Regions from separate parts of the Homo sapiens genome. Here region 1 is linked to region 2. Evidence: promoter capture Hi-C in 16 types of primary human blood cells and fetal thymus (Javierre and others, 2016). All regions are on one chromosome and are shown on one strand. The core of a region is centred on a gene start or on the middle of the fragment in contact, and the rest is flanking DNA. Distances in the headings are between cores, read along the strand shown.

Region 1 (3,993 bases), core at 1-2,500, 340 kb after region 2:
GCTCCTCAGGGACCTATGTTTTCTGCTCCCTTAATCATAGTTCTCTGCCCTTATGGACCCAAACACTTGGGGTCCCAATCTAATCTCTATATTCCCTAGCCTTCCGGCCCCCATCCTTCCCCTTGCCTCAGAGACTCAGGCCTCTAGCCCCCAGTCTCCATGATGCAATGTTCCGCAAGCTTCTGTGGCTGCTGATGACACTGCCCCCAGGGAGGTGCTATTTGTGACCCACCAAGGCCTCCTTCCTAAGCCAGGGTAGTGGTCAGCTGTAGGTGGTAGAGGTCAGGCAGGCAAGGCCCTTCTGCTCGGGAAGGGAGCTTCAGGCTAGAACTCTCCAGGACAGGGAGGCTCATAACCTGGGAGCAGAGAGTGTGTATCTATAGTCTGTGGCATCTGTGTTCTGCGGTTGTGCTGGGGGGAGGGACTAGGAAAGGGCTAGTCGAGAGCAGAGTGGGCAGACTTTAGGACAGACCAAGAGGAGGAGTGAGGGGGAAGCCTAGGGGGTCAGAGGGTGTGTGAGGGGTGTCTGGACAACAGAGTGGGGGAGGGGCTAACAGCCATTTAAAGGGCCAGCCCCAGAGCTTTAATCCCTCACCAGCCCTGGCCCCAAGCCGGAGGCTGTAATTCATCTGTCCAACAGCTGGGGTGTGTGTGTTTGTGTGTGTGTGGGGGGGGGGGCTTCCTCCCCCTTCTATTCCCTCCCTCCTCCTCCCCGTCCCTGAGTCCCGGAGTCAAACAAAGAACTGTAGCAGGCTCTCCCCAACCCCCTCCCTCCTCCTCCTCCTCCTCCTCCACCTCCTCCTCCCCTCCCTCCCTCCCCACCAGCAGGCTCCCTCCTCCTCCCTTCCGGTCTCTTCCTTTAACTACCCGCCCCCCCAGCCCCCAGCACTAGTCTCTCTCCACCCACCCACCCCAACCTTTTACACACCCCTCAGCCTAGCCCTGTCCCCACTAGAGAAACTGTGGAGTCCCTCTGCAAAACGAAAGGCTCCAGAGATCAACACGGGAGGGGGCTGGGGTCTTGCTTCAAAATCAAGAACCATAATACAATTATTTTATTTTCAAGGCCCACGGAATAGTCTTAGCTATTTCTTGTCCAAGAGAAAAAAAAATAATCCTAAAGAAAGCAATACAAATCTGCCTAAAGCCTTCATCAAATAAAATGCACAAAGCAGTTGAAGCTAATCCCCAGCCCCCTAACCCCAATCTCCAAATTAACACAAACTATCCACTACCCCTTAACAAACTCCTACGGTTACCGCTGGTTTGGAGCAGACCCACAGCAATAATAATAAACTAGTAACTAACACCATTTAATAATAAAAGTATTTCATAACAACAAGCACTCATTCTGTGTTCATTCTGTGCCAGGCACTGTGCTAAGTGATTTGCATAAATTATCTCATTTTTTTCCTCCCAGCGGCCTTCAAGGTAGGTGTTGATATTTAAATGTTCAAGATTAACATACGAGGCTCAGAGAGGTTCTGACCTCTCCAAGTCCTAGTAGCCACTAAGTGACAGAGCTAGAATTAGAATCCAGGTCTGATCTGACAGCCCAAGCTCTAAGGTACATAAAAGCACAAACCGATTCATTCCAATACCATCACCAACCCTGGGACTTAATAGAGAAGAACAACCATAGCAATCAACTGAGTCCCCCTCCACCAAGTGAGAGGCTACAAACCGATTCACCCGCATACACACAATAAAGACCCTGACTTTTCAGCCTAATACTGTTTCTTGACCCTTTTCCTTTCATTGTTTGCAGATGGGGGTGTGCCATTATGGGGATTTCAGGGATAAGCTGGTGTGTAGTGAACCCCCCCCCATACTACACACAACTCTTCCGTCTTTCAACCACTCCCACTTCAAATCAATCTGGGGAAGGGGGCAATAGGACACTTGGCCATGCAGCAGGTGGGAAAGTAAAATGACGGCTAGGTAGCTTTTTCTATGGGGGCGGAGCCTTGGAGGGGAAGCTCTTCTGTGCCAATCTAGGGAAAAGTGACCCAAGGCTCCCTCAGCCCAGCAAAGGGGCAAAGTCTTTCAGCCACACCACACCCGTGCCCCTCCCCCTCACAAAACTCCAGGCCGGGGTTTCCCACCTGCAGGATGCTAAGACCACGGGAAGGGAGAGGGGAAAGAGATGGCACGGGACTGGAACTGGACTCGGGGCAGAGGTGGGAGGGAATAGAAGGGGGAGGAAGCCTCATTGCCTGGCAACCATCCCGGGGCACGTGCACTAGTGACATCATCCCAGGCCACCTCTAACACAGACCTTTGACCCCTACGGGGCGGAGTGGGTGTGCTGGCTAAGCTTCCTGGAAACACTGGAAACACCCTTAGGAATTCTGGGAACCCAAAAAGGAGACATAAGAAGAAACCCAGGCGTCCTTATCTCTTTTACCCCTAATACGACTCCAATCCCAGGGACTCAGGCCTCTTGCCTGTCTCCTCCTCTCCGCCTGCAGCCCTGACCTCCCAACCCACATTTCTGACGGGAGTCGGCCCGACACGCCCCTCGGAGATACTGTGCCTTCTCTCTCCTGGGCGAGATCTCGGTGGGGGCCGGCAGGCGGGGACGGGGGCACCGGGTCCCGCGGGGCTCCGTCTTCCATCTGCAGGATCCCCCGTGCCCCAGCCGGCCGCCAGCCGGAATCTGTCTGGGTCCCCAACTCTCCCGCCCCTCCCCGCGCTGTTCCAGGGCGGAGTCTGTGGAGTTGAAACCAGGACACGGCGAGAGGAAGAGTTATATAACCGGGAGAAGCGAAGAAGGACGAGTGGAGACAGGGACAGACAGCCCGAAAGGAGCCGAGGGAGGTGCAAAGAACGCCGGGGCGAACGAGGAGGAAACGTTAGGAATGGGAAGGGTTTTGGTGCACATCAAAGAGCAGGAATTCACGCGAAGAAGGGGCGTGATGGCCCAGAAGAATCACCTGGGCCGTCCGGGGCTTCCCCGCAGTGCCCTCCTCCGCCACCAACAGCAGCTGGGCCCGGGCGGGAGAAGCCTTGGGAAGGGGCGCTGGTACCCGCTCGCTTTCTCTTGGGAAAGCAACTTAAGCCAGAGCCCGGGAAGGCAGCGGCCGAGCAGATGGGGCCGGAAACCACAGCTCCGCCCAGCCCACCTGGGAGTGTGGGGCGCCAGCTGGGGGGAGGTGGGGAACAGGTAGTCGGCCCTCCCGAGCCAGGCTGGGCATTATGGTCGCGACCGGCGAAACGGTGCAGACCGACCGAGACGTGTGGGTCCCCAGGGGCTGAAGAGCGCAGCCTCAGGCGGCTTTACACAGACTCCACGAGGGGAGGGGGGCGCCCGGCTCGCCGCGCAGGCGCAAGGGGGTGCTCGGGCGCGTGCGGCGCAGGGCGGGGGGTGGGCGCGAGCGTGTGGGAGTGCACGTGCGGGTCCCAGGCAGCTGCTGCCTCCCAGCCTCCGCCGCTGCCCCTCCCCTCTCCCTTTCCTGTCGCTATCATCCCCCTTCCCCATTGGCTGCCAGGGCCCTGACGTCAGGGCCGACCGCTGGAGCGGATTGGGCGGACGGGAGAGTTCGGGAATCCGGCTCCCAAGTCTCGCCCTCCAGTTACTCTGGCAACAGGACAAGCAACCCAGGGGAGGGAAGGGGAGCCGAGGTCAACGCTGCGCCTCGGTCCCTAACCCCCTCCGGACAACCACCGAGTCCCCTTCGGTCGCGGCGCAGCTCGCTACCTCCCCGCCTTCCTCCCAGGGCTCTTCCTGTCCCGGGAACCAGGCGTCCTGCCCTCGGCCTTCCCCACAGTCTTCAGGCCCTCCGCTGTCTCTAACCCCCACCAGTGTCACAACATAAGCTGCAGCAAACAGGAAGCGAATCTACGTCGCTTAGCAACCACCCCGCGTGCCCCCCTCCCCACTATTTACCCCAGCCGGGAGAGGCGGAGATTGAGTCCCCAGCCCCCTCCCCGTCTTCTGCGCTGCGACCTCCTGCCCACAATTTCCTGTGAGGGGGCCCAGATCACAGGAAG
Region 2 (4,374 bases), core at 1,061-3,560:
GTCTTGGGTTCAAGGAATACTTCGCCTTGGCCTCCCAAAGTGCTGGGATTACAGGCATGGGCTTTTGCTTCTGGTCCCAGAGTGCATTTTCTTTTTATTTCTTTTCTTTTTTTTTGAGACGAAGTCTTGGTCTGTTTCCCAGGCGGGAGTGCAGTGGCACGATCTTGGATCACTGCAACCTCTGCCTCCCGGGTTCAAGCACTTCTCCTCCCTCAGCCTCTGGAATAGCTGGGATTAGAGGCGGGCGCCACCACACCTGGCTAACTTTTTAACTTTTTTTTTTTTTTTTTTTTCAGTAGAGATGAGGTTTCACCATGTTGGCCAGGCCGGTCTGAAACTCCTGACCTCAGGTGATCTCCCTGCCTCGGTCTCCCAAAGTGCTGGGATTACATGCCTGAGCCACCGCTCCCGGCCAATTTTTGGCCAAAGTTTCTAAAATAAAGTTTAAGGTTAAATGTCCGGCTGGGCGCGGTGGCTCATGCCTGTAATCCCAGCACTTTGCAAGGCCGAGGCTGGCGGATCACGAGGGCAGGAGATCGAGACCATCCTGGCTAACACAGTGAAACTCCGTCTCTCCTAAAAACACAAAAAATTAGCCGGGCATGGTGGCGAGCGCCTGTAGTCCCAGCTACTCAGGAGGCTGAGACGGGAGAATGGCGTGAACCCGGGAGGCCGAGCTTGCAGTGAGCCGAAATTGCGCCACTGCACTCCAGCCTGGGAGACAGAGCGAGACTCCGTCTCAGAAAAAGTAAATAAATAAAATAAAACAAAATAAATGCTCTATTTTAATAGAATTATAAATGCCCTATTTTTATAGAATTATAATTCTAGCGTTTCTTTTTTTTTTGGAGACGGAGTTGCGCTCTTGTTGCAGAGGCTGGAGTGCAATGGCGCGATCTCGGCTCACTGCAACCTCCACCTCCTGGGTTCAAGCGATTCCCATGCCTCAGCCTCCCGAATAGCTGGGATTACAGGCACGCGCCACCACGCCCGGCTAATTTTGTATTTTTAGTGGAGACAGGGTTTCAGCATGTTGGTCAGTCTGGTCTCGAGCTCCTGACCTCAGGTGATCCGCCCTCCTAGGCCTCCTAAAGCGCTGGGATTACAGGTGTGAGCCACAGTGCACAGCCCGCTTTTCCCTGTTTGTAGCGCCTATTATCTTACGGATTTATTTGTTTGCATGTCTGTTGTTGATCTCCCTGACTAGAATACCCTTACTAGGTAATCAATAAACATATACAAATATTTGTTGAAGGAATGAGAAATGCCTCTTGGGCTTGTAGTTTAGGCTGGCTAAAAGCACTGAGATGGGGAGTGGGGAGTAGGAAGAGATTGTTCTCCTGGGAGATGGGCCGGGAGGTTCCTTGAGGATGGGACTTGACTCAGCAATTAAAGAACTTTCAGATCTGCAGGGACCTGCGCTGAGGCCCAAAGGTCATGAGGTCGCCGATGATAAGAGCTTCTTGGACTGTAGCTGGGCAATGTCGGAGGCCCAGCACCTCCAAGGGACAAAGAAATCTGAGTTGAGTTTCCCTTCCAGCCGGCTCCAAGCCTCCCAGAGACGCAGGGACTGTCCCATTCCCTTCGTCCACTCCCACTCTTTCCAGCCACCTTGCTCTGCTCTTATCCCCATGCTAGTTTAAGGACGCTGGCCATTTTTTGCACTCTGCAAATCCCTCACCAAACTGAGCAAAGTAGTCTGAAAGAAATCAGTCTTCCTCAAGGAAGGTTCAGGCCTGGGGTCCTCAGACAACCAGGGGCTCCGTGACAATCTGTGACTGCAGAGCAGTCCAGGAACACCGGCCTCTCCAGGTTCGGGTCCCTTGTTTCTCAGGCCCAGCTTGGTGGGAAGCTAAAGGCATGCAGAGGAGGGGAAGGGGAGCGGGTCTGAGTCTTCGGCATGGCGGGGAACTCAGCCCGGCGTGGTGGTGGCAGCGGTCTCAAGTGATCCACAACTGGGCAGCGTAGCTGGGGCTGGGGGCCGCTCCCGGCGTGGGCAACAGCAGAAGCATTGGTGTCCCCAAGCTAGGCCAGGGTGGGTTTCCGTTCATCCGCCCTGCGTGGGCAGATCGGGCGCTGCGGGGCTGTGCCACCTCGCACCCTCTGAGGAACAAAGGGCCTGGCTGCGCGCGGGTACCCAGCCGTTAGGTTAGAAGCGCCTTCGGGTACCCCTGACCTTCGCTGGCCCTGAGAGACCCGCAGCAGCCGGAGAATGTACTGCTCGCGAGGATTTCCGAGAACGCGGCGCCGAGCCCGCGTACACGGTTACCAAGGCAACTGGGCGGTGCCTGAGCGGGCGGGAAGGAGGCGTTCGTCTAGATTTGTCGGCTTGCGGGGAGACTTCAGGAGTCGCTGTCTCTGAACTTCCAGCCTCAGAGACCGCCGCCCTTGTCCCCGAGGGCCATGGGCCGGGTCTCAGGGCTTGTGCCCTCTCGCTTCCTGACGCTCCTGGCGCATCTGGTGGTCGTCATCACCTTATTCTGGTCCCGGGTAAGACCCACGGCTGCACTCAATCCGTCCCCATTCCCATCTCTGAGTGGTCCTAGTCCTACCCTGCCCCCTCCCAGTGTCTTACCCTCTTGGGTTTTCTTGTTTCCCGCCGCCCCCAGGCCTGCCCTGCAGCCTGCCCCTTTTTCACTTCTCTTCCTGTGCCCTGCTCCCAGGACAGCAACATACAGGCCTGCCTGCCTCTCACGTTCACCCCCGAGGAGTATGACAAGCAGGACATTCAGTGAGCTCTTGGGACGGGGTGGCCAGAACGAAGAGGTGGTGGGAGTGGAGGGGTCTTAGAATAAGTCCAAAGGCCTGGGCCAGTCCACTTCCTCTCTGCAGGCTGGTGGCCGCGCTCTCTGTCACCCTGGGCCTCTTTGCAGTGGAGCTGGCCGGTTTCCTCTCAGGAGTCTCCATGTTCAACAGCACCCAGAGCCTCATCTGTATCCTTTCTGCCTGCCCACCTTTCCCACACGACCCACTTCTATCAGGACTCCCTTCAGCCACCTGACACAATAGTGTCTGCTGTAGCCAATCCTTCCAGTTCAAAGATCTTCAACGATGTGCTAAATCCTGCTGTTTACTAGGCACTTAAAATCCCAAAATGAGAGTAAAATACAGTTTTTGGCCAGGCATGTTGGCTCACGTCTGTAATCCCAGCACTGTGGGAGGCGCAGGCAGGAGGCAACATAGTGAGAACCCAAGTCTACAAAAATAATAGGAATAATAAAAACCCCACCGTTTCTTTTTACAATGAGGAGGAGGTAGATACAAATCTGTAATTCAGTGTGATAAGCACTGTGCTATAGAAGTGTGTGAAGATAGAAAGCACAGGCAGGGCGCGATGGCTCACGCATGTAATCCCAGCACTTTGGGAGGCCGAGGCAGGTGGACCACCTGAGGTCAGGAGTTCGAGACCGGCCTGACCAACATGGTGAAACCCCCGTCTCTACTAAAAATACAAAAATTAGTCGGGCGTGGCGGCGCACTCCTGTAATCCCAGCTACTCAGGAGACTGAGGAAGGAGAATTGCTTGAACCCGGGAGGCAGAGGTTGCAGTGAGCTGAGATCGTGCCACTGCACTCCAGCCAGGGCAACAGAGCAAGACTCTGTCAAAAAACAAACAAAAGATATAAAGCACAATGGGAACTCAGAAGAGGCAACGGAAGCGAGCACTGGGAACTCAGAAGAGGCAAAGGAGATGAGGCACATGGGTCAGAGAATTGTGGACCAGGAGGACCAGGACACTGGAGGCTGATTCCAGCGCATATTAAGTCGCTGTCAGCACTCCTTTGTGGCATAGCAGAAGGAGAGCCTACTCTTACCTCTCATCTGAAGGATCCAGGCTGGCCCACAGATAAGGGGTAGGGTAGCCTGAGGTCCGATCTGTGCAGTCACTTCTGGTCTCTCCTCACATGACTGTCCTAAAATTCAGAAGTCAGAGCTGCTGACTCTAGCCCTTGAAACATGGTGAGGGAGCAAGGGATGAACCTGAATGCAGATGCCAGCCCCACCACTGGCCTTTTCTGACCCATCACTGTCTGTCGATCCAAAGACTTTCCTTAATCTCGTGCCTTCCCAAGCCATTGGGGCTCACTGTAGTGCATCCGTGGCCCTGTCCTTCTTCATATTCGAGCGTTGGGAGTGCACTACGTATTGGTACATTTTTGTCTTCTGCAGGTGTGGTAGCATCCAATATTTGGGGATGAGGGAGGAAGGTTGGCCCTAAACCTGAAGGTTTTTCCCCTACCCAGCCCTTTCCTCCATGTGTGAGATACCAGATCCACTCAACATCCTGTAGGCTTTTAAAGTTTCATCCCCTACCCCCCATGCCACCTGCCCTACACTTTCAGAGGTGGGGTCTCTGGTTTGGAGATTTGGGTA

What was found. Contacts are between HindIII fragments. The CHiCAGO score rates a contact against its expected background, and 5 or more counts as called.
Region 1: a fragment that was not itself captured here is called in contact with the fragment with the promoter of TMEM107 in region 2 in 1 of 17 cell types (erythroblasts); the score reaches 5.5 in erythroblasts.

The regions. Positions count from the first base shown.
Region 1 is chr17:7,835,123-7,839,115 of GRCh38, reverse strand. The region is part of intron 1 of KDM6B (lysine demethylase 6B); the gene reads right to left. LOC124904106 (translation initiation factor IF-2) reads left to right here. Exons shown (of 4, transcript XM_047437265.1): 4 at 2,472-3,708. The coding sequence ends at 3,499. Among named protein-coding and RNA genes, the nearest start is that of KDM6B, 2.9 kb to the right of the region's middle. RefSeq lists silencers at 1,328-1,477, 3,018-3,077, 3,098-3,517 and an enhancer at 2,348-2,397. The HindIII fragment of the contact is 2,138 bases long and covers 182-2,319 here.
Region 2 is chr17:8,174,316-8,178,689 of GRCh38, reverse strand. TMEM107 (transmembrane protein 107) reads left to right here and starts at 2,310. Exons shown (of 5, transcript NM_183065.4): 1 at 2,310-2,490; 2 at 2,664-2,731; 3 at 2,833-2,933; 4 at 4,074-4,170. The coding sequence starts at 2,404. LOC105371520 (a long non-coding RNA gene) reads right to left here. Exons shown (of 4, transcript NR_188261.1): 2 at 3,816-3,914. RefSeq lists enhancers at 2,013-2,132, 1,548-2,159, 2,313-2,362, 2,433-2,522, 2,683-2,732 and 3 more. The HindIII fragment of the contact is 13,203 bases long and covers 1-4,374 here.